Regions from separate parts of the Homo sapiens genome. Here regions 1, 2, 3, 4, 5 and 7 are each linked to region 6. The links are contacts of gene promoters, found by promoter capture Hi-C in blood cells and fetal thymus (Javierre and others, 2016). All regions are on one chromosome and are shown on one strand. The core of a region is centred on a gene start or on the middle of the fragment in contact, and the rest is flanking DNA. Distances in the headings are between cores, read along the strand shown. Region 1 overlaps POLR3B (RNA polymerase III subunit B). Region 2 overlaps POLR3B (RNA polymerase III subunit B). Region 3 overlaps TCP11L2 (t-complex 11 like 2). Region 4 overlaps ABTB3 (ankyrin repeat and BTB domain containing 3). Region 5 overlaps TCP11L2 (t-complex 11 like 2). Region 6 holds the start of TMEM263-DT (TMEM263 divergent transcript). Region 7 overlaps POLR3B (RNA polymerase III subunit B).

Region 1 (3,458 bases), core at 30-2,529, 540 kb after region 6:
ATGCCGCTGAGTACAGATTTGGAGGTTGAAAATACATTTTAGCAAGTAGACAAATTTGCAAATATGCATAATGTGGCTCAACTGTATAAACTGGATGAAATATTAGATAAAACAACTACTTGAAATTCATTGAAAGAGTATCAGGAAGCAGAAAGAAACTGAGGAAAAGGAATGCTTATCAAAAGCAAATGGTTCTGAGTGAGTTTCCTGTTTTATGGCTTTTCACCTAAGGGCAGGCAGTGATCCCTGTCAAATCAGAAGGCTAAAACATGAGAAAGTAAGTTGCAGTCTTACTGGATTGAAGAACCAAAAGAAAAAGATCTGAGCTACCTCAACAGCTAGAATGTAAGTGAGGAAATTCCAAATTCCACATTTAAACTCTATCTAAATCCCCAATTGACCCAAGCTACAACTGAAAGAACTAAATGAATATTTCAGCTGATGTTTGCTGCAGGAAGGCAGGATTCAGAGGTTTTCAGCCAAGTTCAGAGGGTCTTAAAAAAAAAACAAAAAACTGGGACACTCTTTAGAGGAATACAGCAGAATTCAGAGCCTCCACAACTTATCCACAATGTCTATCAGGTTGCAATCCAAAATTATCAGACATAAGAAGAAACAGAAAAACATGAGCCACATTCAAGAGAAAAGCTAATGAAGAGAATGACCCACAAGTGACTGAGACGTTGAAATTAGCAGCAAAGGTTTTAAAGTAGCTATTAAAATACAAGGATGTAAATAAAAATAGGCTTGTGATGGATGAACAAATACAAAATCTCTGTAGAGAAATAGAAGCTATGAAAAAATACCTAAATGAAATTTCTAAAACAGAAAAATACAATATCTAAACTAAAAAATTAACTGGAGCTTTTTAGTTACTTGCTAGCCAAAGATTTTTGGATGCTTGCTAGCCAGTTGAAAGAGATACACAGTCTTGAAATAAAATGTCATTTATCAGCTAAGACTTAAAATGAGATTAGAGATATCCTCACTAACCTACCTCTACCATGTCACCAAAACAATCAGCGGATTGTTTCCTTGATTATTGTCTCTCTCCCTTCCACTGAGACTACAAGGAGTAAGAGAAAAGGGGCTTTTGTCTGTCTTACTCCCTCTTATATAACTAGTACTTAGGAGTATGCCTAGAACATAATAGGTGTTTAGTAAATGTTTGTTAACTGAATAAATGATATTACTTAAAGTCATACTTCACTTTGTATATTATACAGAATGAGGGTAAACATCCCAACAAAAGATATAGGTCACGTACTATTAACATTTAAAGAATTAGGCTGGGCATGGTGGCTCACGCCTGTAATCCCAGCACTTTGGGAGGCTGAGATGGGCAGATCACCTGAGGTCGGGAGTTGGAGACCAGCCTGACCAACATGGAGAAACCCCATCTCTACCAAAAATACAAAATTAGCCGGGCACGGTGGCACATGCCTGTAATCACAGCTACTCGGGAGGCTGAGGCAGGAGAATCGCTTGAACCCAGGATGCCAAGGTTGCAGTGAGCTGAGATCGTGCCATTGCACTCCAGCCTGGGCAACCAGAGCAAAACTCCGTCTCAAAAGAAAACAAAAAAAAAAGAATTAATGTTTTTATAGTTAAAGGAATTCTAGGAGATAATAAGTCAGGTATGAAATGTTTATACTTCAAACCTGCAAACTATATTTCATTCAAATGTTTCTTCTTATGTGAAATGAAAACCAAATTAATTTTCATTAAGGAAAACAAGATTTCTGACATAAAATATTAAATCACCTGTCCTGCCAATTCCAGTCGCTTGTTACCATAATAATCTCTGTCGTCAACTTTATTATCTCCTTGGGCCAGAATAACTCTTCGCACCATCACTGCAGTATAGATACATTTGGCTCGGAAATTGAATTCCTTAACCTGTAAGTCAGAAATTGGAGAAAAATTTTGAGAAAATGGACATTAAAATTTAACGTACCTCAAGAAAAGTATCAATACTATAACATTCAACTAAGAAAATACTGAATTGTTATGATTCTCTCCATTCAAATAAATTCAACTAGTCTGGAAATTTCCTGAGCTGAGATGATGACTTTTCATCATTGTCCTCAGTAACCTGTGAGTACCTCTGTGTCAAAGATGACTACATCAACTTCTTCCCTTCATATAAACTTCATGCCATTCCTTCATTAAAGGTGGAATCTATCACTCCCTTGGGATTGGCCTATGATTAATTTAACCAAGAGAATACAGCTGAAATGATACCAGCCAATTCCAGAATTAATCTTTAAGTCAACTGGCAGTTTCCTCTTCCTTTCTCTTAGAGTCCTGAGACACTAAAGTCCAGAACGCTCTGTTGCACAGAGAGAGAGGCTACATTTCATTTAGTAAAATCCCAATGAAATGGAAAATCAAGGAGGGGCCAGAGATATGAGTGAAGATGCCATCTTGAATGTCCAGCCCAGGTGAGCTTCCAGATGACTCAAACCTCAGCTGCTATCTGTCTGCAACTTTGTAAGAGACCTGAAATGAGAACTCCCTCCTCCACCTTAAGTTAAACCCGGTCAAACCACAGAATCATGAGATACACAATGAACAGTTACATTAAGCCACTAAGTTTTAGAATTGTTTGTCATGCAGTGATAACAAGAATTGTACTAACATGCTGTCTGGCATGCAACAAATAACTGCCGAATGAATGAACAGATGAATGAATTTGTAGCAAATGTTCTAGTCAATCTTCTCTAGCAGAAACACTGAAACCCATATGAATGAATCTGGCTCAATCATAGTAAGTTGACTCAGAACTGATAAAATAATTGCACTGGTTTGTTTGGAGAGACAAAAAAACTGAAGTAGATCCTACATCTAAAAAGACAAATTTTGAGAATGTAGCCTGAGCTTCTGCCAATTCCAAGGAGTATTTATAGGCTTTTCCACAGATGATACATACTATTTTAAAATTTCTTCTTTACTTACCTTAATCATTTAGTAAAATCCCAATGAAATCTCTTTTATAAAATTTATCACTATGACAATAAATCAATAGACTGCATTCAAAAAAAAAAAAAACAAGCAAGCATTCTCCTTCATACATTTTGTTGTTGCTGCTAAGTAATTTCACTAAATAATGTAGGATGTTAGAATTCTGTATGTGTTTCAAATACTCCATTTTCCTTCAAAGGAAGTTTTATTTCTTCTCTAGGTCAATTTACTCTCTATTACTGAGAACTCTGGAATGTGTTAAAAGAAATGTGTTTGAATGTGGTAAAAGAAAAAGTAGCCCTAAAAGCTACTTTGTTATCTTGTACCCACAAAACAATTACATCAATAAGAAGGTCTTTAAAAAGAAAAGGCTCTTGTCCATCCTCAAGAAAAAAAAAAAAAAAACAAAAAAAACCCTCTTACAATCGTAACACCAGTTACCACAAAACCAAGCAGAAAAACTCAGTGTCTGGGCAGCTATAAGTAATTTACAT
Region 2 (3,700 bases), core at 216-2,715, 580 kb after region 6:
ATTTTAACATACCTATTGTAGTAATTGATAGAACAAACAAATCAAAAAGCAATGCTGATACAAAACGTCTAAACAACACAATTAACAAGTCTGATCTGAAGGAAATACACAGACAATGGCACAAAACAACTGGAGAATACCTCTTGTTTCCAAATAAACATGAAACATTTATAGAAACAGGTCTCTACAAAGTTCCAAAAATTGACATAAAGCACCAATTGGGAAATCTTAAGTCTTCTAAATAACTCACGTTAAAAGGGAAATCGTAATGGGAAGATAGAAATAAGAATATTCTCATTTTATACCAAGGGAAATGAACATACTGACTAAAGTTATGTAATATGACATGAAGATATAAGAATATTTCAGTTACTACAGTAACCAAAAAGATAATTAAAAACAAGAAGGAAAAATTGGAAGACGAAGGGAGAAGCAAAGTGGGTGACACAGGTAAGCTAAGCCACATCCCGTATATCAGGAGGGAAAAAATAATGTCTACAGTTAATGTATTAAGAAATAGAGGTCAAAGCATCGCATTTAAAGTTATGGATATTGGCCACGCATGGTAGTTCGTGCTTGTAATCTCTGCACTTTGGGAGACCGAGGCGAGTGGATCACATGAGGTCAGGAGTTCATGACCAGCCTGGCCAACGTGGTGAAACCCTGTCCCTACTAAAAATAAAAAAAAAATTAGCCAGGCGTGGTGGCGGGCACCTGTAATCCCAGCTACTCGGGAGGTTGAGGTGGGTGAATCACTTGAACCTGGGGGGCGGAGGTTGCAGTGAGCTGAGATCATGCCACTGTACTCCAGCCTGGGCAACAGAGTGAATTCCATCTCAAAAAAAAAAAAAAAAAAAAAAACACACACACACAAAATAAAGTTATGGATGTAATAACCCCCAGAAAAAAATAACAGAAATAGTTATGAAGTTGGGAATGGGACGAAAGGTGAGGAAGGGGAGAGAAGGAGGGAGGTTACTGTTTTGAATCAAATGTTTTTATGTACTGTTTGATTTCTAACCAAGTACAAATATAATTTGGATTAAACTAAAATCTTTTTACTCCAAAAAATAAATGAGATTATATATGTAATTTAGGTAATGCATAGCACATATAAGCATTCTAATGACTAGAGGTCTTTTTTATGAATGCGGAGCTAACAAACAACATTGCCTATCATAGTATGGCACATAGCAGGTATTCAACAAATGCTAGTTACATGCCCCCTCTTTTTATTTTATTTTATTTTATTATTATTATACTTTAAGTTTTAGGGTACATGTGCACAACGTGCAGGTTAGTTACATATGTATACATGTGCCATGCTGGTGTGCTGCACCCATTAACTCGTCATTTAGCATTAGGTATATCTCCTAAAGCTATCCCACCCCCCTCCCCCAACCCCACAACAGTTCCCAGAGTATGATGTTCCCCTTCGTGTGTCCATGTGTTCTCATTGTTCAATTCCCACCTATGAGTGAGAATATACGGTGTTTGGTTTTTTGTTCTTGCGATAGTTTACTGAGAATGATGATTTCCATTTTCATCCATGTCCCTACAAAGGACATGAACTCATCATTTTTTATGGCTGCATAGTATTCCATGGTGTATATGTGCCACATTTTCTTAATCCAGTCTATCATTGTTGGACATTTGGGTTGGTTCCAAGTCTTTGCTATTGTAAATAGTGCCACAATAAACATACGTGTGCATGTGTCTTTATAGCAGCATGATTTATAGTCCTTTGGGTATATACCCAGTAATGGGATGGCTGGGTCAAATGGTATTTCTAGTTCTAGATCCCTGAGGAATCGCCACACTGACTTCCACAATGATTGAACTAGTTTACAGTCCCACCAACAGAGTAAATGTGTTCCTATTTCTCCACATCCTCTCCAGCACCTGTTGTTTCCTGACTTTTTAATGATTGCCATTCTAACTCATGTGAGATGGTATCTCATTGTGGTTTTGATTTGCATTTCTCTGATAGCCAGTGATGGTGAGCATTTTTTCATGTGTTTTTTGGCTGCATAAATGTCTTCTTTTGAGAAGTGTCTGTTCATGTCCTTCGCCCACTCATGCTCCCTCTTTAAACCAGGATTTAAACCCTCAATCTTATGAATTTATGTTTTCCTCCAGTCTCTCTTGCCTTTCCTTCACAATAGTCAATCTAGTTCATAATTTAGCTATGGTCCAAAATTTAACTGGACACAAGTATGGTCCATATACAAGAAAGAAAGAAGTTCTCACCTTAACACTGATAGGCCAGGCGCGGTGGCTCACGCCTGTAATCCCAGCACTCTGAGAGTCCAAGGCGGGCGGATCACCTGAGGTCAGGAGTTCAAGACTAGCCTGACCAACATGGCAAAACCCCATCTCTACAAAAAATACAAAAATTAGCTGAGTGTGGTGGCACACGCCTATAATCCCAGCTACTCAGGAGGCTGAGGCTAGAGAACTACTTGAACCCGGGAGGCAGAGGTTGCAGTGAGCCAACATCATGCCACTGCACTCCAGCCTGGGTAACAGAGTAAGACTCTGTCTCAAAAAAAAAAAAAAAAAACAATAAAACAAAAAAAACACTGATAAACAGTCCTGCTAAAACCAAGATGAACATTTTAATATCTTACTTATTTTTCTAAGTGAAGACTAAGGAGAGAAACAATACAAATTACCCCTTCCTTTGAGGGAAGTATAGGAGGATTTGTTAAACCTGCATGTTTCCATAAAAATCTGGACTTCTAGACCCCTTACCAAATGGTGCCATAATTACATATGCCTGTCTTCCCTGATAGCTGTGAATGAAGGTAGCCAATAGGAACTGTATTTTGTATATCTTTTACTCACCTAAGTACTCAGCATCATACATAAGAAGTGATAGGCAGTTGGTATATATTTATTGAACAAATGGATGTTTGTTCAAAGTGCTCTTAGCACTTTTGAGAGGGGGAAAAACACTTGAACAGAAATTATGTGGACTGAGTTTAAAGTCTAGTACCATTATTGACCACACAATATTGTGGGTTTTGTCCATTTCTAAAGGAGAGTCAATATATTTCCCTAATCAGGAAGGGCAGATTGCAAAAACGCAAGTGGATGCTATCATTTCCAAACTTGTACCAGGCAAATAAGTAACTTCTCCCTTAAATACTTGTAGATGAGAAAAAGTTAAATTCCAGGAAAACTCAATCTCAGAATATACCTATCCACCAAGAAGACCTGTCCAGGAGAGTTCACTGAAAGGCTATTGTATCTAGTGGTTCCCTAGCAGCTCAGAGTTATAGTAGGAAAGGGAAACATTTTCCTCAACTTCTTAGAAAAGGTTTCACAATTAATAAATAGTAACAACCACGACTATGTGCTGGACATTATTCTAAGTGCTTTACACATGCTGACTCATTGGACCTATGAAATAGGCAGCATTTCCTGCATTTTTCAGATGAGGAAATGGGATCACATCATGGGGCTGGAATCCAGGCAGTGTGGCTCTAATACGGATTTCATTTCTCACCTGCCGATAGGTAAGGCATTGCGGATGATCCTCTGGCTGCCTCGGGTATATTCAATATCCACTGTAATAGGGGCAGAGTATGTCATGTCTCTCAAACGGCACTGAAAGAGAATCAGGAATCTGACAGTTACTGCTCCTCTCTGCAACAGGGTCCTGACCACTTCAAAGTGCTCCTTCTGTAGTAGAATT
Region 3 (3,873 bases), core at 1,193-3,692, 640 kb after region 6:
CCATATTTGATAACATTGTCTCAAATATTTATGAGACCAACTTATTAATATAGGCCCATTATAAGTTACTTTTAAAAATTAAATTACCAGGCCAGGCGCAGTGGCTCACGCCTGTAATCCCAACACTTTGGGAGGCCGAGGCAGGTAGATCATGAGGTCAGGAGATCAAGACCATCCTGGTTAACACGGTGAAACCCCGTCTCTACTAAAAATACAAAAAAATTAGCCGGGCATGGTGGCGGGCACCTGTAGTCCCAGCTACTCGGAAGGCTGAGGCAGGAGAATGGCGTGAACCCAGGAGGAGGAGCTTGCAGTGAGCCAAGATCGTGCCACTGCACTCCAGCCTGGACGACAGGGTGAGACTCGTCTCAAAAAAAAAAAAAAAAAAAATTAAATTACCTCATTTTTAGTGCCCATTGAAATCTGCACTTATTATATGTATTATATAGGAAATTGATAAAATTATTTTTATTCTGTAATTCAGAAGTCTCATTAAGTAAACTCAATATGAAATAACTGATTTTTAAAACCGTAATATTTATTTATTTATTTATTTATTTATTTATTTATTTTTTTGAGATGGAGTCTCACTCTGTTGCCAGGCTGGAGTGCAGTGGTGCAATCTCAGCTCACTGCAACCTCCACCTCCTGGGGTCAAGAGATTCTCCTGCCTCAGCCTCTCGAGTAGCTGGATTACAGGCACATGTCACCATACCAGGCTAATTTTTGTATTTTTATTAGAGACGGTGTTTCGCCATGTTGGCCAGGCTGGTCTCGAACTCCTGACCTCAGATGATCTGCCTGCCTTGGCCAAAGTGCTGGGATTACAGGTGTAAGCCACCGCACCCAGCCAAAAACTGTAATTTTTAAATGTATAGGCAGTATAGTATAAACACTTAGGTTCACTCTGAGTTTTGCCAATTGGTATTTATCATTGGATTTCACTGAGGCATAGCCTTCCTCCTCACAGGGTTGGCCTGAGGTGACCGAATGAGATAATTTAAGTAAAGAAGAAGATAGTAAGAACTCAATAAATTTACATAATTAAAAGTAAAATAGAATAAATCTGAGAAGCCAGATATTTTACTTCTCAGTAGGAAATAGTAAATGAAGAATCTGAGTTATTTCTAAAGATTATACTAAGAAACTATTCTAATAAATCATGTCTTTTAAAAATCACTGTTGGAAATCTTAGCTTCTTTTAATTAAAATCATGTGTCAAACAACAGCAGTGACAGGTAATACTTTACTACCTAATTTATTTTTTTTTCCCAAGACAGAGTCTTGCTCTGTCTCCCAGGCTGGAGTGCAGTGGTGCAATCTTGACTCACTACAACCTCCACCTCCCAGGTTCAAGCGATTCTCCTGCCTCAGCCTCCCAAGTAGCTGGGACTACAGGTGCATGCCACCATGCTCAGCTAATTTTTGTATTTTTAGTAGAGATGGGGTTTCACCATGTTGGCCAGGTGGTCTTGAACTCCTGACCTCAGGTGATTTGCCTGCCTCAGCCTCTCAAAGTGCTGGGATTACAGGTGTGAGCCACTGCGCCTGGCTACCTAATTTTTAGGAGAAGATGAGGAGGAGGATCAGGGAAAGAGGAGGAAGAAGAGAAAGGTGATACACAGAATTGGTAAAACCCTTCTTCAGGATGCCTAGGTACCCTGGTGTCAGATGCAACAACACCACATACAGTATAAAGAGTGAGAAAAGGCACAGAAACCTGGGGTGGCTGCTGTTAATTTCTTTTGCCAGGTCTGACTCAAGATTCTCCTTAAAAATGTCTATATACTTTGGTCCAATAATCCAGTGATATCCAAAAGTCTTTCCAGAAAGGCTTCATGCAGTAAGATGTTCATAAAGCACTATTTATAACAGCAAAAAAAAAAAAAAAAAAAAATGGAAACTAAATGTCCAGTGATTAATCAATGGTTAATTTTACCGTACATTCACTTGGTAAAGTAATAAGTATTCATAAAACCAATGTTTCAAAAACATGTAATCATGAGTAAATGTTTTAGTTATAATACTAAGCAAGAAGAGTCCACACACATATACACACATATGTCTATGTGAAGGATAAAGATACGGCAAAGCACTGCCAGCTGTCGTCTTTGAGTGATATCATAGGCAATGTTTTCTTTTCTCTATTCTTATGTATCTTCTAAGTTTTAAAAAATGAGAATGTAAAAATTTAAAATACAAATGAAGCAATTTGTAAGAAGTGGACAGTTCAGCATATTAAACATTAGTTGCTTTTTCCTGCATTTGCTTTGCCAGTTAAAGCTGTTATATTTACTAAATAAAGTGCCAATTAAAAAAAAAAAGGCAAACACATCTGCTTTACCCATCTCTAGTTTCTACATGCAAAAACGGGAAAAAGATATCTCCTTTTGCTGTGGCCTCTCTTTTAACTCTTTCTCACACCCCTAATGTAGTAATTCTCCTTGTGGGTACCTTCCTGGGGTGATTTGCACAATATTTTTTTGAAATCAACATGAAACCCTTTAGATTATTTCACTTCCTTCCTGACCTTTCAATGAAGGCCAGTTTCCTTCAATGTAAATCAGGAATAATCAGAAAAGACCAATTTGAATTTATCCTTCAGTGGAGATCTAAGAAGTAATCTCAAGGAATGGCTTTCTGCTGTTTGGGAGAAAAGACAGATGGGGTTGAAGTCCTGACTTATCATCAGACCGAAACAGATCGGAAGCAGTGATCAAAATAAAAATCAGCAGGTTGTAAACTTTAGTGGCTATTTCTGAGAATGTGTCCCGGAAAGCTGCAGTGCCTCTGCAGTGCTATTCTGGTGCATCTAGAAAGGAGGGGAAGTCTGTTGCTCTCAGGCGTTTCTGAGTTTTCAAATCCAACACATATCTAGAAGTACCCCTGCCACCCACAACCCCTGCTCCCCCATCGGCTCACAAGCAGGAGAGCTGGATTTGCTGGAGGAGTCACTTGCAAAGCTCTGCCTGGAGCATTCATAGTCACTGAGCGAAGCCATGCTTTCGGAAAACCGGGAAGAATCAGAATCGCTTGGCTGGTCCTCTCCCACACACTGCTTCTCGCCATTGAAGGGCATTTTGCGTCACTTAAGTGTGGGTAAAAAGGTAGCACCTGCACAGACAAACAGACCCTGCGTCAATGTTCTGTGGTACTTCCACAGGCACCACCAATGCTTCTTCCAGTGTAGACAACTGTCCCCACAAGTGTCACTGTGTTGGAAAGGCCCCCAGATGACCTCATCCTTCCCCCAGCACCTTGGCCGGACTAGGCCAGATCACTAGGTCATCGAGATTGCCTTTCTGAAAAGGGATTCCACAGCCATAGGTGTGAGCTTACTCAGGACACACCCACTATAAATGTGAAGCTCTAAGTAATGGCAGGTCCTTTTTAAAAAGATGCAGGACACATGCTCTCTCCTCCTGGGTTGCTGAAACATGAGAAGGCGGGAGTGTGGGACTTGGGTCAGATCTCTCGTTCTGTTCTGCCTTTTGCCATGAGACCTTGGGAAGGTCACTTAACTACCTACCTCATAGTGAAACTGGACTGAAAGACTAACCTCTCATTGGGTTGCCAGAAGATTGAATAGAATTCATCTTAAAGAGCTTGGCACAGTACTCAAATGTTAGCTGCTATTATTGCTCCTATTGCTTTGTTTCAGATAAAATAGCTGTGAAATCAGCCTCTTTACGCTTTCTGTGAACCTCCTGGGGAAAGGGGAAGACCGCATGAAACCTCTGGCTGGCAAGTCTTTAGCTTCTTCCCCCTCCATTTCCACATGAACTGCTGTGATATGAAGATTAAGACCTGATATATGGTTAGGATTTGACAATTTACAAAGTACCCATCACAACCCTATGAGTGCACAAGCAT
Region 4 (3,610 bases), core at 802-3,301, 660 kb before region 6:
TTCCACCTTGGCCCCAGCATCCAGGAGGAGCTGCAGAGGAAGAGCGGCCATTGAGACGGTGAGAGGAGATACACTGTGCACAGGTGTCAGGAAAGACTGCTGGGATGGGTGAGATGCCAGCACTCCTTCCCTCCCTCTAGGTTGGTGACAGCGTGCACAGGCTGGAGGGCAACTGTACCCTGGAGGATGAACTGAGAGTCTCTCATTGCTGCTAGGCTACTCGGAATGTGTTCCATGCATAACAGCATCAGCACCACCTGGGAGCTTGTGGGAAATGGTGACTCTCAGGCCCCACCCAGGTCTACTGAATGAGAGTCTGCATTTTAACAAGATCTCCAGGAGATGTATACATATATAAACATTTCTAGAAGCACTGGGCTAAAGGTTCTTGGCACAGGAATGCTGGAAGACTCCCCTCCTGGGCTGGTTACACAAAGCCTCAGAGGGCACTAGGGTAGCCTCGTAGAACCACAGACTCTCAAGAGTTCTGAAGGACTTTGGGGGTCTCCCGGGGCCCCACCTGGATGGCCCTGAGGACAGTTTAGCAAATGCTAAGGTTTCTGGACAGCAAGATCAGTTAATAAAGTGGCAGAGTGAGCTTCCAGAAGTTTTGCTTCATAAGACTTCATTCTGTGCATCCCCTGAGATAGCTGGGCTTCCTAAAGAGGTAGGGATGCTGTCCATGCCTGGTCTCATTCACAGTGAATGTGCTGTCAGCACTGCTGATGGAAAATGGGGGAAAAATCTGCTATCTTTACTGCCTACCTAGGGCTCCCTGAGGGCACGGCCATGGGGGAGCCACCTACTTGGCACTCCGTGATCGCTGGCCCTGCGGCAGGGTGGTTGCCTGACTTCTGTGTGGCTTTGCTTGGCTGCTTACTGTTCCCATTCCTGATTTAAAGGTCGGGAATGTCCTTGCATGTTAAGGAATGACATCTGTGTCCACCAGACCACCAACCGACCCCTTCTTTCTTAGTTTCCTCTACCAGGAGTGGACTGGGCATACTGTTCTATAGGCAGAAGCCAGCTCTCAGTGTGACATGTCACACTGTGAGCCTCCTGAAACATGACTTGGGATCTGTTCTAAGGATTCTCATGACCCAGGAAACAACAAAGGATTCCCATGAAATTCCAGCATTGCAGAGCTGTCCCTGCTCTGCATGGAATCAAGAGGCATGGACCACACAAAAGGAGGTGAGTTCCTGATGTGCCCAACCTCAGCACTCACTACAGGACCAGGTGCAGTCATGAACTTGGATGCTGATCTCTCTTTTCTGATGAAGTAAAGATCAAGCTTATGATTTAGAATGTACCGTATGGCTGTTCACTGAACACCAACTCTACAACAGCCAGAAAAAGTACAAGCAATACATATTTATATGCCCAAAGGACCTCCAATGAGGACATGTCACTGTGCTTGGAGCTGTTTCAGAAGACACATGGCCAAGGCCCTACTCTAGACCTCCTGGACCTGATTCTCAAGAAGTGGGATCCAAGCAAGTGTCTTTTGGAAACACTCCCTTGATGTCTTGGATGCTTCTTCCCACTGGCTGGAAACCAATGGATTCTACACAAACACCAGGGGTCACACCTAAGGGAAGGTTCTAAGGTATCAATAGCAACCAAATCTCATGTTCATGTTGCGACAAGCAAAATGAACAAATCCACAAAAATAGCTGAAGCCCCACCCCAGAGCAACCAGGAAGAACTTCATGGGTCTGTCACTCTGTGTGTGAGGCTGTGTGTGGATATGTGATCATTTCATATTGGTTAAAGCCTGGCCATATAGATCATTACATATAATATTTGTATTCACATGATATGAATATACTATATTGAATTGCAGTTAACCAATATGAATGTCTTAGAGAATATGCATGCTGGGAGAGGTATAGATGTGTGTTATGGAAGAGGTAAAATCAAAAGTCAGATGTGGATAGGGAAATACGTTAATACCTGAACTACAGGAATATGTCCATGCAACACAGCAAAAGTCAGAGCCGTCCAATGGCGGGTCTCGGGGTGGACGGATGGATATTTATGAGGAGTACTGACAACCTATAAACAAATTGAAGTTATTTTCAAAATGTGACCTTCACAATACTTAGGCTAGCAAATTTGACGTATCTGTGGCTGGGCACATGGGCTAGAGATGGACAAAAAGACATCCTGGAAGATGCCTCGGGAAGAGCTGGTGATACAGGGCAGGGATTTTCCACTGCTGGATGCTCCAAACACCTCTCACCAAAGCCGTGGATCTGTCCTGCTTGTGTTTGTAAGAACAGAGACCAAAGCAATCCCCCAAAGGCAGGACAATGGAAGTCCGTGTTTTGGAGATTTTACCCTTGAAGGCAGTGAGAAAATGTCTCAGTGACTTTATGTCCTTTGTGCATAAGAAGGACTCCTTCACTTCTCCTCTGAAAGGAAGTAATGGATGATTCTGATCGCCTCTCAGGTGCTTTGAAGAAGCTGTAATGGCAGTTACAATGAGCTAGCTTTCTGGCCTGTCCCCTTCTTCCTTCTACCTAGCAGAGGGTGGTGGTTCTGGGAGCTACAGGATGTCAGAGAGCATGAGATGCCACTACCATGCCATCCACACTTTTAAGAGAGATTCTCAGTGGTGGCAAACCCCAGGCAAGGGACTGTCTGCTTTCAGCTTTCAAGCCAGGGAAGTCCATCACTCATCTGATGGAGGAATTTCACCATCTGATCACAGCTGGCCCCACCCTGTTCTCATTTCACTCTTCTGCTGGCTTCCTGGTTGACAAGGACCCTCTTGCACTACCGAAATATGGGCACAAAGCTTTCCCAGGACGCATCATGAATGAACAATCTGAGATTGGTCTTTCAGGATGGAGGCCTAAAAACACTCCAGGCCAAGAGAGAAGAGACAGGGCAGCTGAAGGCCAGGGTCTTGCAAGATCAGCACCCACATGGAGCTTTTCTCCCAAACACTCCTGGGGTCATGTAACCTCAATGCCTGCTTCACTCAGAGCAGTTTGGTTCACTAAGCATCCACTGGAGGAAGGCCTGAGCTGAGATCCGTGGGATGGGCTAGAGAGGACCCGAGAATGCTCCAGAACCCAATGCTGAGGACCCCTTGCGTGGGTCTGCATGGTGCTTAAGGATTCATAGCAGGAGGGAAAATCCCCACAGATTCCAAATTTATAGGATCCAAAATGATTCTGGATCCAAAACTGTGTCTATTGTCTGCTTTCCTCAGATAAATATAAAACTCACATTAAAAAAACACACACACACAGTACTGAGACTGCACGGGCATCTAATTTTGAACTGAAAAGGTTTCCCAGGGTTGCCGAGTTATGATTTCAGCCCGTCAATCTCTTTGCTGTCTGATACTGCCAATATCCTGCCGCCAGGGAGAGCAGGTCTTCAGGCAGCATAGAACATGGTAAAAAAGTGATATTTCACCTATGACGAGGTTGGGGTGTGGGTGGAGGGACCAATATTAACTGAGTTCCAAACCTACTCTCTATATCCCTTCTGACAACTATATGAGATGGGTGCAATTATTTTCCCGTTCTGCAGATTGGGAGAGAAAAAAGGTTAAGGCACTTGCCCAAGCACAAAAGCAAGTCACCATGGCAGC
Region 5 (4,008 bases), core at 1,255-3,754, 620 kb after region 6:
CTGTTCCTTTCTGGGGGCAAAGTTGAAGCTTGGATCCCCAGCATTCCATGTCCCCAGGGATAAGGATGAACAACACCATTTGAAAGCCTCAAATCAATAATAAAATGTATTTGTATTCTTAAGGCCGTCAATGTTGTACTTTGAAAATTTGCAGATTAGTCCTAGCAGGTTAGTACATTCTAATTCTACACTCTTCTACTTTTGGTTTTCATCCTTCAACCTCTGTAGTAGACAACTGCTTTGTACCACACGGCAGCTTCTCCCCTTCCTTATGGCCACAATACTCTGATTTTATTTGGGGGTAACCATCTCCTCCCTACTCTCATCAGGTGTTACAGAGAAAACTGACTCTTCCTTGGCTCCAGGAGGTGAATACATGTCTCAGGCTTAACTTTCTTCCCCTCAGGCCACCATGACCAATTCAAGAATGGGACATGAACCATAGTCAGGCTAACTGGAGCCACTGAGACTCAATGATGGGGTCACTGTTTGAGCCAACAGGGAGGCAGATTCCTTGTTTTTCACTGGACTTAAATATGGAAGGTTGTAGGCTGGAGCTAAAGCCATCCTGCTGTCATGAGAAAAGTCTGCCTGTGAAGGCAGCTGGCCCAGGAGAAGGTAGTGTTGAGAGCTGGAGGCGGGAAAACTAGTGCCAGTGACAGCTGGAACTCTCATTAGGCTGTACCAGAAGCCAGTCCTACCCCTGGTCTTTTCAGTTAGATGAGAAAATAAATGATCATTTTGTTTAAGCTAGTTTAGAAGTTTAGATTCTTGTCACAGGTAGCAGAAAAAGTCCTAACTGATACATTATCCATTTTCCCAACTCACCAACACAGCTTGACTTTGAGACAGTCAATTTCCTGGCTGACCATTACAAAAAGAAGCCTACACACTATGTCTCCCGGATCCACACATTTTTAGTCTTTGTCTCTTTAAGCCTGACCAAGTTCCTTCAGAGCTGCTCACAGCAGAACTCATATCTACTATCTGTGAACATACTGCCAGCTGGTTTGAATTACTGCATTGATCTAGGATTTTAACATTACTCCAGCACTCTGTTATTCTTGTCATAAAATCTATTGGCTGAATAGATAATAGGCCCTGAAACATCCCCCAACTCCATGACACACAGAAGCAGCAATGAGTCCTAGGCCTTTGAAAACATTAATATTTCTTGATATTTTCAATATTTATCCTCCAAAAGTGGGTAATGTGTTTAAGATCAAAATTTGACTGACTTAATGTTAGTCAAAATCAGCAAGTTAAAGCAAATTGGAATTGAAGCAGAAATCAATAAAAGGACTCACCAATCAAGGACCAGATAGGATTGTCCTCCTCTTCAATGCTTGAAAATTGACCTATAAGATTAGCTTGAATCTCAGCATTTAAAGTGGGTAAACCTCTTTCCATCAGGGTCTTGTTAACCTCAACACAAGTCTGAATACCAATAGAATTCAGGACTTCCTTCAAGTTAAAGGTCCTATGAAACATAAAATGAAATTCCACCAGGGAAAGTTTTTGTTCATCAAGTTATTATTTTTAATATACAGACTTGTTTTAGATGTCTACCAAATTTCTCTTATACAGACAATAATAACCTCTATTAGAATGAACTCATAAAATAGTAACTCCTCCCAACCACCAACCTTCTGATGTAGCAGACTTCTAAATGCTTAAAATCATTAAATTGTGTAGCAGTGTTTAAATAGAAAAGCATAAGCAGAAAATGTGGTCCCCAAAAATGCACCTGCAACCCCATTTATATTGCAGGGCTATCAGAAAGGGACAGAAAACACCAATTTACTTCTTAAACTTGTTGGTCTGAGTGGATTCATTCACACATTTTAAAAAATGCACTTGATAAATGAAGTAGACTCAATTCATCTATGCCTGAGCAGTAAATCTATAACACCAATCAAAAACAACAAATGAAGATATTCAGAGGTCAAATACCTAGAACTTTTGGCTGATCATGACCAAGGATAATAAGCTCCTTCACATTATTCAAGTAACTGATAAATAATCTCCAATATATAGAGTCCAGAAAGTTGTAAAGGTAATTAAAGAGTGAGTTATTTAGTAGGTAAGGAAAAATAGGTAATTAGAAAAGGCATTTGTTGGGTCCACACTATTAGGGAAAGATGACTGAAAATTTTATCTCACTATCCAGAAAAGGTCCTTAAGATAACTCTGCAAAATGGGAATTAAAGGATGAGAGAAGGGCTCAATGATAGGAAGCAGTATAACGGAGCGAGTTGGAACATAAGCTATGGTGTTATGTGGAGCTGGGTTCAAATCCTGGCTCTACCACTGAACTTCTATGTGTCTAATATTTAGCTCTTAGCAGATTATCAGGCACATGGAAGAAGGAAAAGAGAAAAATAGGTTATCATGTTTATCATCATTAACAGCAATAAGAAATAAGTTCTTGGCATTCTGCCTTGACTGGAATTTGTTATAAGCCCACACTGGACCTGACGTTGGAATTCTGTAACCCAAGGATAGACTGATTGTAATAAAATTTTTACCTTCCGACTTTTTATCCACTACAATGTACTGCCCTAGATTTTTCTTGCTTTTAATCAGTGAGTTCTTAGGCTAAAGGGAAACTGGCTAGCCATATGCAGAAAATTGATACTGGACTCCTTCCTTTCACCAGATACAAAAATCAACTCAAGATGGATTAAAGACTTAACTATAAGACCTTTAAAAACCCTAAAGGAAGACCCAGGAAACACCATTATGGACATAGGCCTTGGCAAACATTTCGTGATGAATTACCCAAAAGCAAATGCAACAAAAGCAAAAATAGACAAGTGGGACCTAATTAAACTAAAGAGCTTATGCACAGCAAAAGAAATTATCCACAGAGTAAACAGCCTATAGAATGGGAGAAAATATTTGCAAACTATGCATTCAACAAAGGTCTAATATCTAGAATCTACAAGGAACTTAAACACTCGACAAGCAAAAAACGACCTCATTAAAAAATGGGCAAAGGACATGAACAGATACTTCTCAAAAGAAGACATACATGTAGCCAACAAGCATCTGAAGAAATGCTCAACATCACTAATCATTAGAGAAATGCAAATCAAAACCACAGAGAGATACCATCTCATACCAGTCTGAATGGCTATTTTTTTCTTTTCTTTTCTTTTGAGACGGAGTCTCACTCCGTCACCCAGGCTGGAGTGCAGTGGCACAATCTCGGCTCACTGCAACCTCTGCCTCCCAGGTTCAAGTGATTCTCCTGCCTTAGCTTCCTGAGTAGCTGGGACTACAGGCATGCGCCACCATGCTCGGCTAATTATTTTTTGTATTTTTTGTAGAGACGGGGTTTCGCCATCTTGGGCAGACTAGTCTTGAACTCCTGACCTCAAGTGATCTGGCTGCCTCGGCCTCCTAGAATGCTGGGATTACAGGTGTGAGCCACCGTGCCCAGCCTGAATGGCTATTATTAAAAAGTCAGAAAATAACAGATTCTGGCAAGGTTGTAGAGAAAAGAGAGCACTTATACACTGCTGGTGGGAATGTAAATTAGTTCAGCCACTGTGGAAAGCAGTTTGGAGATTTCTAAAATAACTTAAAACAGAACTACCATTCAACTGAGCAATCCCATTACTGGGTTTATTCCCAAAGGAATAGAAATCACTCTATCAAAAAGACACATGTACTCATATATTCACTGCAGCACTATTCACAACAGCAAAGACATGGAATCAACCTAGATGACCATCAATGGTGGACTGGATAAAGAAAATATGGTATATGTACACCATGGAATACTATACAGCTGTAAAAAGAATAAGATCATGTTCTTTGCAGCAACATGGGTAAAACTGGAGACCATTATCCTAAGCAAATTAATTCAGAAACAGAAAACCAAATACCACATGTTCTCGCTTATAAGTGGGAACTAAACACTGAGTAAACATGGACATAAAGGGGAACAACAGATACTGGCTCCTACACTTAAAGGTGGAGGTCTGGAGGAGGGTGAGGGTT
Region 6 (3,550 bases), core at 479-2,978:
CGCACACACATACACACACACACACACACACACACACACACACACACACACACACACGGGCGCGCGCGTTTACCTGTTGGTGTTGTATCGATATTCCTGGGGAACCCCTGAGGGCACTCACACCAGCAGAAGTTTCAAAGGCTAAACAATAGCATACAGCAAATAATCACATATAGCAAATATTTTCATTTGGAATTAGCACAGTGTTCACAAGGACGCAAAAATCAAATTAAGAACCCTTCCCTTTTCTCTAGGTGTTTCTAAACCCTTCCGGGTGGCCCCTTCTCTCCCTACTGATCCCTTTAGGCACTAGCAAATCTTTTTTTTTTCTTTAGCAGTGAGTGACGTGGCAGGAGGCAGAAAATGACCCTGGAGGCGCCGTGGCTAGCACTGAGCTTGGCACCTCCTCCCTCCGCTCCACGTTGTACACCCAGCACTCCCCCCACTCCCGAAGGGCTCCAGAATTTCTATGTAAGAAGGGTTTAGGACAGGCGATCTGATTGGAAGTGGGAGCTGGGGGGTCGGTCTTGAAGCTGCGTGTGCAGAGCAGGCAGTTTTTATTTAGACTGGGAGGCAGTGACGGCACGGATGGGTGCTCCAGCCCTCCCTGTCACCCCTGGGCGCGGCCAGCACCCTCTCCATTCCCACTTTTACTTTAGGTTAGGCGTGGAGATACAGCCTTCCTACCCAGGAAGAGCTATGGGGGTGTCCACTGGGAAAAAGTCTTGTGTGCCTGAACCCAAAAGGGAGGTTTAGCAACAGGTCAGGAGTTGGCAGGGCGAGGAAGCCCGGTACCCAAGCCCCTCCGCTGCATCCCTCTCCCAGGCTGCTGATGCCCCTCACCTTCCTCCTCCGCCCCCAACCCCGAACCCCCAGATGCTAAGAAGTCAGGCGGAGGCTTTCCAGGGGTGCGCAAGCTCCAATCGCGGCGGGGCAGTCAGCGACGTATAAGGAGGAGTAGCCCCAGAAGCGAACCTCCATCCGCCCCCAACTTCGTCCCGCCCCTCCCCCTTTCCCGCTGGGGCCTCGCCAAGGCCCCGCTGGGCAGCCAGGCCGGGCACTGGGAGGTGAGGGGCAGGGGCGCCGACGGCAGAGGGCGACGGAGGAGGGCAGGAAGCCGGGACTGCGCCCCTGCCCTCGCATCCCGACTCACTCACCGCCGGGGTCGCGGCCAGCGCTAGGGCTGGGGCCGGGCGGAGTGAGCGGGCCGGCGCAGAGGAGAGCTGAGGCGGCCTGGGCGGCAGCGGCGGCCGGCACAACCCCGGGCAGTCGCGGCTCCAGAGGCGTCCTCTCAGGATGTGGAGCTGGAAGACTGTGGCGGCGGTGGTGGAGGCGGAGGCCTCTGGCTGCGGACGTGGCGCCCGACGCGACCCGCCCCCTCCGCCGCCTCCTCAGCTCCCGCCTCCTCCCGCGGCTCCAGTTCCGACGCGCACGCGCGCTCGTGCAGCCCGGGCCCCTCCCGCGCCCACCGGGCACACGCCCACCCGTTCTCGCAGGGTCCGGCCCTCCCAGCAGTCCCCAGCCGGCTGTGTCCCAATTGCGCACGCGCGACGCTCCGAGGCCCGCTCCCGCCCCTTCGCCCCCTGGACGCCTCCGTGGGAACCCCCGGCCGGCCTGCGCGCCCCTCCTCCGGGGGTCTCCCCGCCTTCTTCCCGCCACCATCCAATCAAATCGGGCGAGGGGCGCGAAGCCCGGGAGACGCGTAGGCCGCGGCCCCCAGGCCCGGTGTTTTGACGTCGGCGGTGCCCGCGTTCCGCGCCGAGTAACGGTCTTCGGAATTCAGAGCCTTCGCCTTAGGGAAGGTGGGACGGTCGCCAGTTTCTCCAGCACTTTCTTCGTCCAGGGACGTCAACCTCCCTTGCATGCTGTCCTCAGGGACTGACAGCGGGGCCTGCTCAGAAGTTCTCGTCGGGACTCTCTACAGGCCTTTGTGATTAAGTGCTAGGGGTGAGGAGAGACGTGGCTTATTTATGTGTTTTTCAGTTTGTTATGATTTTTTTTTTTTTAATTTTACTTCTCCCTGCCCTAGAATTGAGCTCCTTGAGAGTAAAAACCCGCCTGGGTCGCCATCACCCTAGGCTTGGTGCAGGGCCTGCCAGGCGCTCGAATTTGTTGAAGAGGTGGGTGTTCAGTATCGAAAGAGCCGCGGATTGTACATTAGAAAGCCTGGCTTTGCGCCGCGTCCTTGCCACTTGCTGACCAGGCCCCTCCACGTGGTCCCCGCCGGGGCAGCAGCTCTCCTCACCCGTCCAAAGGCACGGGGAGGCGCGTGGCGGCCCCGCCAGAGCTGAGCCCCCTGGGATGTGAGGCCGTCTCGCTCTGAGCTTCAGAGCAGGGTTGCAGGAGACACCTCAGAAGGTCGTTTTGAGGACGGGAGGAGATGAACTGCTCAAAGCCTGCTTAACTAGATAAATGGTATCGATTAACTTTTCTTTGACTCCCTTTCCACACCTATAAAATGAAGATGACGGGAAACTTGTCATACTTTTTTTGTGGTGGGTGGGAAAGGTCTTTATGAACTGTGAAGTCCTATGCAAACGTGAGATGTTTCCTTTCGCAATCTGATTAGCGAAGCAAAAACACGCGAGTCAAAAACATACACAGAAAGCAAAAAAAAAAAATTCACAAAATGGTTTATCAACTGCAGAATATTCAGGATGGTGGAACTGAATGGTAACTACTGACAACATAGCTCAGAAAGGACGTGCTAAAACATGCTGGATGAAGCTAACTTTGATCCAGGTCTTAAATGGAATGGACTATAGTTTATAGCTTCAACCTAATCATTAACTTATGAAATCAGAGAATTAAGGCCACTTAAGCCACTGTGCTCAGACTGTCAAGATATTTAGTTTCTCAAAGCAGAAAGAGGAAATTAAATACTCTTGTCAATTCAACATATGGGTTGGATGATTAGCAGGATCCGTGGATTGTTGTTTATCCAGTATGTGAAGAAACGGATATCCTCTGTTTTCTCGTTATTACACAAACTTCTATCCTTAATATGTGACCTTTCAAGGTTGAACTCTAGGTAAAATTATGAAGTGCACAATTACGTCTTGTTTCTTCTTCCCTTTGCACGTCGTTTTACAAGAGAATCTAATTATTATTAAAGTACAAATGACTGACAAGATTGTAGCCACTCCTGGGAGATTTTGCATTTTTACGGTTATTAAAAGCCATAACTCAAAGCAGCAGTTGAATCTGTTTCATAAACTAACTAAGATTTAAAAGAGCTCCTTTGGGAGGTCATGAGTTCATCAGAAACTTCTGGTGTAGGAGTTCAGCCTATAAAACAAACAAATACATGACTTGTAGTATTTCTTCGTTTTATAGTCTGAACTCCTCTAAGTTCTTGATTCCCATTCTGTGACCTCCCTTTCTTAGATTGTTAAAATAAAATACAGATGACTCACGCCTTTAATCCCAGCACCTCGGGAGGCTGAGTCGGGAAGATCACTTGAGCCTAGGAGTTTAAGACCAGCAAGGGCAACATGGGGAGATCCCATCTCTTAAAAAAATAATAATAATAATTGAGCATGGTGGCACC
Region 7 (3,506 bases), core at 188-2,687, 560 kb after region 6:
TCTCAGTCTTCATCTTTGAGTCTTGCCCTAAAATTCCCAGGGTCCAACCAGGAGTGCCTGAGCAGGTCAATGAAGGCTCTGCAGCAGTAAAAGGGACTGATCCTGGGTTTTCCTTGCTGTCCAAAGCAGCACTGGGAATTCAGGAAAAGAAATAGAAACCACATACAACTGGATGCCTAAAGCAACTGAAGTAGGGAATAAAAAAAGATATTAAAGAGAAATGCATGCACACATACACACACACACACACACACACACACACACACACACACAAAACCTGTACACGAGAGTTGCCATAGTTTAAAAAGTATATTATCACTCAGGCAAATAAGGAAAAAAAAACAGTACTTCCTATTATATCAAAACAAACACCTCTTCGCCATATATCCCCTATTCTAAGTCGGGCACCATAGGCTCCTAATTTGTCTGGGCAAACTCCTTCCTCCAAACCTGACGAAAGTGAGTTAAAGAAACTTCACTCCTCCCATATCTCCCCAATACCTTTCCCAAATCTATGAGCCCAAAGCCATCACATCCGATGAGCTTTATCAATGAGCAGCATTAAGTCTCCAATTCCATTTCATAGCAAAGGACAACATGAAAAGACACACCTGCATCTGTGTGAAAATCTGAGCTTTCTGGCACTCTTCCAGACTGGGCCCAAATGCAGCCATCACGTGCTCCTCTGTTCCAATCATCTGCACAATTTCCTGGTCACTCTCAACACCCATGGCCTAGGAAGGAAAGAAAAGATAGAAAGAGTGTTGGCTTTGTGTTAACTCACTGACATTTGCTTATGCTAATTTGGCATTGTTTGTGGGTATTACTTCTAAGCAAAAGCTAGCTCTTCTCTCAGAAATGGTGCCATCTGGCATTGGCAGCCTTGCCCAAGCTGCAGAAAAACCTGAAACAGATATTTTGATTAGAAAGTGGAAAACAAACATTCTCAAACATTTTTTGCATGTGTACTATCTGCTAAAATTTTTAAATATTCTAAGAGTTTCATCACGAAAAAAGGAGGCTGGGAGGTATGGTAAAGACAACTGGTCATGACTACAAAGGCAAACTGTAAAGACAAACAGCCAAAAGGCAGTGAATCAGAAAAGATGCATTGCTGAAAATAAGCAGAACCCCAATCAGTCTTGTCACAAAATTAATTTTTCTGAGAACTGTCAAATCACTCATATTTTTCCTAAAAAGGAAAAGAATTTTTCCTAAAACACGTTTTACCTCACTATTCTAAAGATATCAAACCAAACTTCATGCAGGTTTCAAAGGAGACTTAAAAAGTAGGAACACATGGGCCAGGCATGGTGGTTCACACCTGTAATCCTAGCACTTTGGGAGGCCGAGGCAGGTGGATCACCTGAGGTTGGGAGTTCAAGACCAGCTGGGCCAACGTGGCGAAACCTCATCTCTACTAAAAATACAAAAATTAGCCAGATGTGTTGGCATGTGCCTGTAATCCCAGCTACTCGGGAGGCTGAGGCAGGAGAATCGCTTGAACCCGGGCGGTGGAGGTTGCAGTGAGCTGAAATTGTGCCATTGCACTCCAGCCTGGGCAACGAGAGCAAAACTCCGTCTCGGGAAAAAAAATAAGAAAATAAAAAAAGTAGGAATACACTTAAGAGGTTTCAGAAACCCACTTAAGTGTTTCAAGGTGGCAGCAGCAACGCAAGTCTTTGTAGATTCCATATGGTACTAGGGCTCACTCCTTCACACATTTGCCTGGAATTTTGCCATATCAAGGAACACAGCATAATCTCACTAAATCTCTCCTGGAAGAGTAATAGTCAGCTTCTTAGAAGTGAGGGGAAAAGTTATGTTTGCATTAAAATTCTTCCTTCAGCTGTAGAGAAGACAGAACCAGAGGATAATTGTGTAGTTAGTGTTGATGCCCTAGTTCCCAGTTCTCCACACAAAAAAGAAAGGAAGGGAAAATCAAATCCCAAGTTCCAATGCAGAAAATCAAGGACATTATCCTCAGTACAACAGGGGCATCTATCTAAAAGTCCAGAGATCTGAGGTGTTTGTGCTAATATAATACCAACAACACACACAGACATTACAACTACTACTGTCATGCAACCTCTTCGCCTTTGTTTTCTCATTTGCATAAATGAAAAACCAGATCCCTTCCAGCTCAAAATGCTATGATTCTACATTTGACCTTCAGTGGTCTGCATTCTAAAAATTTGATTTGGATACTTTAGGATCCGATGTAAACTTATAGAAAGTTTTGAAGATTTGGGGGAAATCTGAATAGATCCCATGTCCCTTTTAGGCCAACATTGGTGGTTTTAAAAACCTTCATAGATTCTTTGATACTCCCTTCAAAAGGTGGAGACTAATTCCCCACCCCAAGTGCAGGCTAAGCTCAATGCCTCACCTCTATAGAAAAAAATGTGAAGGTGGCACGTATGATGACTTTGAAGGACTGGTCATAAAAGGCACTATAGCTGCCTGCTTGCTCTGTCTGAAAGTGCTCTCTCTGGGGGAAGATAGCTACCATGTCATGGAAACACACAAGCAGTCTGTGGCAAGGTCCGGTGGTGAGAAACTATGTCCTCTTACCAACAGCCAATGAGCACCTGCAGTTTTCTGTCAACTGCCATGGGGGTGAGTTATCCTGGAAGTAGATTCTCCAGGCTGCTTCAGTTCAGCCTTCAGATAACTGCAGCCCTGGCTGATTATCTTTTCTTTTGTTCTCTTTGGTGAAGCGGTCTTGCTTATGTTGCCCTGGCTGAAGGCAGTGGGTATTCACAGGTGCAATCATAGTGCTCTACAGCCTCAGGCTCCTGGGCTTAAGTGAACCTCCCACCTCAGCCTCCTGAGTAACTGGGACTACAGGCACATGCTACTATGCTCAGCTTGTGGCTGACATCCTGGCACATGAAAGACTCTGAGCCAGAACCACCCAGCTAAGCAAGTCTTAAATTCCCAATGAATAGAAGCTATGCTATAATCTGTTACACAGCACAGATAACTAATATACCAACTTTTGGAATTAAATTCACTATCTGAATTTAAAACAATTTATTTTGTTCTTTTTTTTTTTTTTGCAAACAAGTTCTCAGGATGCAAGACCTTTTTCTATAGTTTTAGCAGTCTTTTTTTTTAACCTCCAATTTGATATGGAAACATTTATCAAATGGATACTAGAAATAAGCTCCACTATTTAAAAATTACACGATTTCATTAAAACACTAAGCCTTTCATGGATTAAAAGATAGCAATCCTAAAAAAAATTACCAGTTCTAATTTTTAAACAAACAAAACTAGATTATTCTTAGCTCAAGCACACTGAGTTGCATTTACTTTGATGGTGATGGCACATATGTAAAATCATCTACACTTTCTCTTTGGTCTGCAAGTAGCCAGTCACAAATATTAGAACAGAATTCCTTTCTTTGGTGTTTAAATAATACAGGTTAATTTTCCCTAATCTGAAAATCCAAAATGCTCCAAAATATGAAACTTAAAAAAAAACTGGGGGGGGAGAGAGT

Evidence for each region. Contacts are between HindIII fragments. The CHiCAGO score rates a contact against its expected background, and 5 or more counts as called.
Region 1: a fragment that was not itself captured here is called in contact with the fragment with the promoter of TMEM263-DT in region 6 in 14 of 17 cell types (naive CD8 T cells, M2 macrophages, total CD4 T cells and 11 more); the score reaches 11.0 in naive CD8 T cells.
Region 2: a fragment that was not itself captured here is called in contact with the fragment with the promoter of TMEM263-DT in region 6 in 16 of 17 cell types (fetal thymus, naive CD8 T cells, naive CD4 T cells and 13 more); the score reaches 26.7 in fetal thymus.
Region 3: a fragment that was not itself captured here is called in contact with the fragment with the promoter of TMEM263-DT in region 6 in 8 of 17 cell types (naive CD4 T cells, fetal thymus, naive CD8 T cells and 5 more); the score reaches 11.0 in naive CD4 T cells.
Region 4: a contact is called between a fragment that was not itself captured here and the fragment with the promoter of TMEM263-DT in region 6, in 1 of 17 cell types (fetal thymus). The highest score is 5.5, in fetal thymus.
Region 5: a contact is called between a fragment that was not itself captured here and the fragment with the promoter of TMEM263-DT in region 6, in 12 of 17 cell types (naive CD4 T cells, non-activated CD4 T cells, fetal thymus and 9 more). The highest score is 11.2, in naive CD4 T cells.
Region 7: a contact is called between a fragment that was not itself captured here and the fragment with the promoter of TMEM263-DT in region 6, in 14 of 17 cell types (naive CD8 T cells, fetal thymus, total CD4 T cells and 11 more). The highest score is 11.9, in naive CD8 T cells.

What each region holds. Positions count from the first base shown.
Region 1 is chr12:106,409,267-106,412,724 of GRCh38, reverse strand. POLR3B (RNA polymerase III subunit B) reads right to left here. Exons shown (of 28, transcript NM_018082.6): 12 at 1,765-1,899. Among named protein-coding and RNA genes, the nearest start is that of POLR3B, 53 kb to the right of the region's middle. The HindIII fragment of the contact is 6,628 bases long and covers 1-3,458 here.
Region 2 is chr12:106,369,495-106,373,194 of GRCh38, reverse strand. POLR3B (RNA polymerase III subunit B) reads right to left here. Exons shown (of 28, transcript NM_018082.6): 6 at 3,512-3,612. Among named protein-coding and RNA genes, the nearest start is that of POLR3B, 14 kb to the right of the region's middle. The HindIII fragment of the contact is 4,830 bases long and covers 1-3,700 here.
Region 3 is chr12:106,310,282-106,314,154 of GRCh38, reverse strand. TCP11L2 (t-complex 11 like 2) reads right to left here. Exons shown (of 10, transcript NM_152772.3): 2 at 2,923-3,114. The coding sequence starts at 3,079. Among named protein-coding and RNA genes, the nearest start is that of TCP11L2, 9.5 kb to the right of the region's middle. The HindIII fragment of the contact is 7,236 bases long and covers 1-3,873 here.
Region 4 is chr12:107,613,509-107,617,118 of GRCh38, reverse strand. ABTB3 (ankyrin repeat and BTB domain containing 3) reads right to left here. Exons shown (of 17, transcript NM_001018072.2): 7 at 1,957-2,058; 8 at 1-30. Among named protein-coding and RNA genes, the nearest start is that of PWP1, 70 kb to the left of the region's middle. The HindIII fragment of the contact is 1,509 bases long and covers 1,297-2,805 here.
Region 5 is chr12:106,338,298-106,342,305 of GRCh38, reverse strand. It overlaps TCP11L2 (t-complex 11 like 2), which reads right to left. Exons shown (of 10, transcript NM_152772.3): 9 at 1,308-1,480. Among named protein-coding and RNA genes, the nearest start is that of POLR3B, 17 kb to the left of the region's middle. The HindIII fragment of the contact is 4,948 bases long and covers 31-4,008 here.
Region 6 is chr12:106,953,673-106,957,222 of GRCh38, reverse strand. It overlaps TMEM263-DT (TMEM263 divergent transcript), which reads left to right and starts at 1,728. Exons shown (of 1, transcript NR_185933.1): 1 at 1,728-3,550. It overlaps TMEM263 (transmembrane protein 263), which reads right to left and starts at 1,316. Exons shown (of 4, transcript NM_152261.4): 1 at 1,158-1,316; 2 at 74-141. RefSeq lists enhancers at 369-428, 1,358-1,652 and a silencer at 929-1,688. The HindIII fragment of the contact is 6,686 bases long and covers 1-3,550 here.
Region 7 is chr12:106,390,259-106,393,764 of GRCh38, reverse strand. It overlaps POLR3B (RNA polymerase III subunit B), which reads right to left. Exons shown (of 28, transcript NM_018082.6): 10 at 612-734. Among named protein-coding and RNA genes, the nearest start is that of POLR3B, 34 kb to the right of the region's middle. The HindIII fragment of the contact is 6,020 bases long and covers 1-3,506 here.